Regions from separate parts of the Homo sapiens genome. Here region 2 is linked to region 1. The links are contacts of gene promoters, found by promoter capture Hi-C in human tissues and cell types (Jung and others, 2019). All regions are on one chromosome and are shown on one strand. Each heading gives the region's core, a stretch centred on a gene start or on the middle of the fragment in contact. The rest is flanking DNA. Distances are from core to core; before and after follow the strand shown.

Region 1 (2,803 bases), core at 304-2,803:
TCGACCCACTTCCAGAGGCAATGCCATATTATTTGAGAAAGCTGGATATAAAATTTGAGCTCTGCTGTCCTTGTCCCAATCCCCCTCCCCAGGAGAAAAAATAAGCTGAACTGTACTCGTGACATTATGGGTTTTTCTGGAAAACAAGGATAAATAAGTTTTTTGAACATTTTTCTCCCCTGAAACTAAATCCGTAAGAGAGTTAAAAACCCGTGGAAAGCGAGTTAAGTCACTTTTCAAGTCTTTGTACTCAGGGGATTCTGTAAGACTCATGGAAGAATAATGGCGCAAACAGCAATATTTTAATGTTAGAACGGTCCTCTGAAAAGTCTGCCCGAAACGCTACAAAGATAATTGTGCAGTAACTTCTAAAAACTCTACTGGGACAGGAGGCAACAAAACTCCGGATCAGCGAGAGCTCTGTTTATCCGAGGGTGCTGAGCCTCAGGCCCCACGGAGATTCCCTTTTCGGCACTTGGAGGCCTGAACTCAGGTCTAACCTTTCGTGTGCGCGCTCTGATACTCAACCACCGTTCAGTCTCCGGAGGCTGTTACAACTGTCCCCATTCTACAGATGAAGTTGAGGCTACAGCTTAGTGTTCTTGGGGAGGGAGGGAGTTGGGGGGAGAGAGAGACGCTTTTCCTCATAACCTTAAACAAAAGTACTTAAACCTAAAGCAACTGAAAAATGATTTTCTTTCAACAACGGTGTTTCCTTTGGGGTCAAGTTCTTTGATCTCATCTACAAAACCAAGAAGCGGGACAAGTATTTTTCTGCAAATTAGAACGGGGCGTTCCCCTCCCCCATCACCCCAATTCCAGAGGACGTCAATCACAGTGGACGCAGCACCGCGAGCGGAAATGCGGAGAGCATCGGGGCTCCGCATGTGGGGCACAATGAAACAAGAGCAGCCCCGGCCAGAGGTCCAGTAAAGCGGAAAGACGGTCCCGCCCGCACACCCCTCCGGAAAACTGAAGCGTCTCCTCTGACCCCCAAGGTCAGAAAGATTTATTACTTCCTTCGAGAGGGCGCAGCCACAGACCCACTAGAGAGGGCGGGCAGGGTGTCGGAAGCCAGAGAACGGCGCTCCGCGTCCTCCCACCGCTCCAGGGCGCAGAGGTGTCCTCAGTGCCCGGAGAGGTTGGCAGTGTCGGCCCCGAGGGAAGCGTGGAGCGGACGGCCGACAGGGGATTTCTGCCCAAACTTCATCACCAACTCTTTCTGAGAGCAAAAACATGGGGCCGAGTCCGGCAGCTGCACGCAGAATCCAACTCTCTGGCAGCTCTCGGCACCGACGAGCTCCAGATCCCGCGTTCGCATCCCGGCGCTTTGCGCGCAGAGCTAAGCCTTCGGACCCGTGGACTGCAGCCCCCGCGCGTCGCGGTAAAGCGGGTCGCGTCTCCAGCCCCCGAGGCGCAGCGACGGTGGGAGCCGGCTCGGCGTTGGGGGCGGGGGCGGGGCCGGCGAAGGGGGAGGGCTGCGCGGCGGAGGGGAGGAGCCGCGGCGACAGACGGCGGCGCGCACCAACCGGGCGCCGGCTGGCAGGAGCCGCGCAGAGGCTGGTCCGAGCGCGTTGCGGGCGCCCGGCGTAAGGGGAGTCGGGTAGCAGCATCCTCCTGGGCGCCGCTTTCGCGCGGCGGCGGCGGCTGCGGCGGGGTCTTTCTTTGCTTAAATACCTCGTTGGCCAGAAGCGCTGGTACCGGGGGCGGGTTGGGTCGGGTCGGGCAGTGCTGCACACCTGGGTTTCCTTGCCTAGAGCTGTGTGTTCGGGGTCCTTTGGTCCAGTCGGAGGCTGCGGAGCGGCGGGGGTTGCCTGCGCTGTCCGCCCGGGCATCCTCCCGGTGATGGAAGCAGCCGCCGCCGCCGCTGCGGGGTCGCGCTGTGCCCCATCCACCGCTGCCAGAGAGGTGGGAAAATTCGCCGCACGGAGGCCGAAAGCGAGAGGGGCTGCGCCGCTATGCCGGGAGCTGAGTCCCATATAAGCCGCCCCCAGCCATCGCCCCCAGCCGGCTTCGTTCCCCTGAGCGAGACAGGAAGCTGCGGTCCCGAGAAAGCGGAGGAGACGTCGCTGGAGCCGGGAGGCGCCGGGTTCGGCGGAGCGCGGAGCGGGGCTCTGGGCCGCGTGAAAGTTTTTCTTCCCGAGCCGCAGGGCGCCCGCTGCCCGGAAACTGCCCAGGGATAAGTCGGCCGACTCCCCAGACCCCTCGAAGGTGCGGGGACCCCCAGCGGAAGCGAGAGGGAGCGAAATCGAGGAACGAGTGACAGCCGGACAGTCCGCCGGGCGGTGATCCGGGGCCGCTCCCGGGCGCGCCCTCGGCTCCAGGTGAGCGGAGGAACCGGGCAGAACCGAGGGTGGGCGTTACTTAGGAGGAGGAGGCTGGGAGGGAGATTGGGGCGCATCCGCTCACTCCGCTTCCCCTCGCAGGTCCTACCCGGAGCCGCTGCCATGGGAGAGCCAGCCTTGGGCGCTGGGGACCAGCCGCCGCGCCCGCCTCGGAGTCGCGGCCCGAGTCCCGGCGCCAGCAGCCAGCCCGCTGCGTCCCCTTCCCGGGCTGCAGGGCTGCCTCCGCCGCGCCGCCGGCCCGGATTGTGCCTGTGATGAGCCGCAGCCCGCAGCGAGCTCTGCCCCCGGGCGCGCTCCCTCGGCTGCTCCAGGCTGCGCCTGCAGCCGCGCCGCGTGCCCTGCTCCCGCAGTGGCCCCGGCGCCCAGGACGCCGCTGGCCCGCGTCCCCTCTCGGAATGAAGGTGTTCCGTAGGAAGGCGCTGGTGTTGTGCGCGGGCTATGCACTGCTGCTGGTGCTC
Region 2 (2,980 bases), core at 430-2,929, 450 kb after region 1:
GTTAACAACAACAAAAAAGTAACAAAGGGCATAAACTGGTAGTTCACCAAAGAAGAAATACAAACAGCCAATGACCTGTAATTAAAAAAGCTTCTCCTTCATAAAAATATAATAAATGTAAACCGGAAGAAAATGGAACTTGATTATCAAATTAGCAGTGATTAATAAGATTTGGGGTGGTGAAGACGTGAGTGAATGAGCTTGCTTTCAGATTGCTGGTGGGAGTGCAAGGGGATACAAATTTTCTAAAAGACAATTTGGACAAATTTGTCCAAAAATTTAAATTTTAGTCTTTTTATTAAACCAGACATTTTATTTTCAGGCAGTTACATAAATAAAAATTTATATCTCTAGCTATACAGATTATCATTGCAGTAATAATAAGAATATTAAAACCTGTAAATAATCAAAAGGTTGTTACAATAAATTATGGCAAGTTCATATGATGGAGTATTCAATGTTTTGGAAAACATTCACTATAAATTTTTTAATGCTCCATTCATGGCATTTTTTTCATTATAAATTGTTGAATGAAAAAAGCAAGTTACTTAAGAAATATATAGATATATGCATGCACGAGTATATTTAGGTAGGCATATTTAAGTGTATATGTGTGTGTATAATTATATATATATAGTTAGCTTGACACAGCCAAATATTAACAATTGTTATTAACATGCAATAAGAATATAAGTGATTCTAAATTTATTTCCTTCTGTAAATCTGCATTTTCTAAATTTTCTACAGTGAGTATGGATTACCTTGGGTGTACGAAAAAAATAAAATATATTTAAAAACAGATGTGCTTTGTTTAAAGTAGCAGAACATTTTTTTTCAAATAGAATTGTATGTGATATCCCAATTTCTGAAACCAATAAAAGGGGTGAAGTATGGGTAGGCGGCCGAGAGCCCTGCTCACTAGACGGATGTTCTTGAGGGCGCACTTTGAAAGGTCAGGGCCTGGGGAATTCTGCTGAGAAATCATTCCATGTTAATACCATCTCTAGGAGCTACATTAAGTGTTGTTAGTGAACCCATACAAGGCTCCACGATTGCTGGTTACCTCTGTAGTTACTCATAAACTATTTAATAGCTCTTTCCATTTTAGTTTACTGTATTCATTGTTGTCTATTCATGCAGAAATCATTTTTTTAAGTTTTCTAGATTTTTAGATTTGTATCATATTAGTTTACCTGTGCATTAGAACTAAAATGATTTTATTATTACATGGAAATAATTACAGAATTATAATTTGAGGCCACACCCTCAGGTTTTATTGAAAGTTGATATGAGAAATGACCATATGAAGAATGAACCTCCATTTTCCCTAAAATTATTATTAAATACACTGTCCATTCTGGTGTTCAAAGGCCCTTATATATAGATGCATGTGATAAATTCCCCTAAAATTTTAGTATGAAAAATAAAGTTTGCCCACTTTGATAAGCATGACTTAAAAAAAAATAATGCTGTATTATTCCTGTATAACTCATCATGTTCCCCTTTTGGCTTTGACTGCCAGAAAGCTCAGAGCTATATTTATTGCCAAACCACAGCAATGAACAGTGGCCTAATTTTGCAGAAAAATTCTGTCCCAGAGCACTTGAGTGTTTACCCTCAACTAAATGGTCCTGTGATGTGCATGGCTTATGTTATGAGTTGTCACAAATCCAATCTGGAAATAGGCAAGGATTAAATAATAAACAAACAAACACATAAGTAATTTGGACTAAGCGGTCTTGGTCTTTGGCAATAGAAAATGCTCACACCTAGAATTTGGTTTGTAGCAAATGTCTGTTAGGCACATTGCCTAAATCTAGTGTACTACTCGGGGGTGAGTCTGCCCCTCGGTACAGCCATGGACACTTGGATCTTTCTGTTACTGGGGTTCACACCCATATTCACCCATCCCATGATGCTGGCTCCTTAGAAGGTGGTCTGTATGGCAGCTCAGTAAGGATATCAGGTTGAAAGGGTGTGAAAGAGCAAGGATCAAGCAAACTAGCAATTTGTTCAGTTTCCCATGGATCTTAGCCTTTAATGTAGTTGATAGAAGAAGATCTTGCTGAAATGGACAAGGAAATAGACAATTTTTACACAAATTGACAATTCTTAGGCAATGGTGTGTGTGTGTGTGTGTGTGTGTGTGCGCGTGTGTTTATTATAACATCCAACAGTAGATTAAAAAATATTAGGTGAGTTAAGATACTTCCTTACCTTTCTAGAAGGTCAAATATTTTTTCTTATTATTAATACTACTTGGATCATTTTATAAGTTAAACTTGAATAGAATACAGAATGTGGAAGAAAGGGAACTAATGTTTTTTGAATGACTGTGATGTAAATGATTTGCCTACATTATTTCACTGAAGGGACATGGCTACTGTTTTCTTCTGAAATGCATAAGCTTTCCAGCTACCTCCTTAATAAAGTGGCAATGCACTAAAATAACAGAATTTGTATTGAAATAATTTAGATACAAAGGCCTGGTAGGGTGGAATCCAGTAATGTAGTCTTGATTATAGTGTCATAAGAACTGGTGGGTGGCTTTCTGTATTGGCAGCAAACACCCTTGAAGCCAACGGGAATAGCTTGGACTGTGTGGTTCTGCAGTAAGTTGGGCCAGCTGATTAAAGCAATAGGTTCTCATTACTAAAAAGATTTGCCATGGCATTCACAGGAGAGCCAAGACCAGCCAAGGAGCAACTGAACCAGGCAGTTGCCTGGGGCTCCAACTACTTCCTTCCTACCTACCCTTAGAGGTCCGCTTGATGTTTCACAGATGGAGTTTCATTTGAGGTAGAAATGCGTGGTCCCCCAGAACCCAGGCTCTAAAATTGAATTTCCTGGTTTTAAATCCCAGCTCCATCACTTACTGTTGGCTGAGTAAACTGGGCATAGTCTTTTACTTTTGAATCTTTCTATCGATTAATGAAATCACCTATGAAAGACAGCTGGCCAGCATCTGGCTCATGGTACA

What was found. The method cuts DNA at HindIII sites, captures the fragments that hold promoters and counts their contacts. A contact is called where the count stands out against the background at its distance.
Region 2: a contact is called between a fragment that was not itself captured here and the fragment with the promoter of CHST2 in region 1, in 1 of the 25 tissues and cell types used here (spleen).

Annotation. Positions count from the first base shown.
Region 1 is chr3:143,118,218-143,121,020 of GRCh38, forward strand. It overlaps CHST2 (carbohydrate sulfotransferase 2), which reads left to right and starts at 1,554. Exons shown (of 2, transcript NM_004267.5): 1 at 1,554-2,324; 2 at 2,427-2,803. The coding sequence starts at 2,600. RefSeq lists enhancers at 610-1,111, 787-916, 1,112-1,611, 1,897-1,946, 2,270-2,803 and silencers at 1,377-1,666, 2,157-2,206, 2,237-2,286, 2,337-2,416, 2,477-2,676 and 1 more. The HindIII fragment of the contact is 8,898 bases long and covers 1-2,803 here.
Region 2 is chr3:143,570,175-143,573,154 of GRCh38, forward strand. The region is part of intron 8 of SLC9A9 (solute carrier family 9 member A9); the gene reads right to left. All of the region lies in intron 2 of LOC124906294 (a long non-coding RNA gene), which reads left to right. Among named protein-coding and RNA genes, the nearest start is that of SLC9A9-AS1, 230 kb to the left of the region's middle. The HindIII fragment of the contact is 5,590 bases long and covers 1-2,980 here.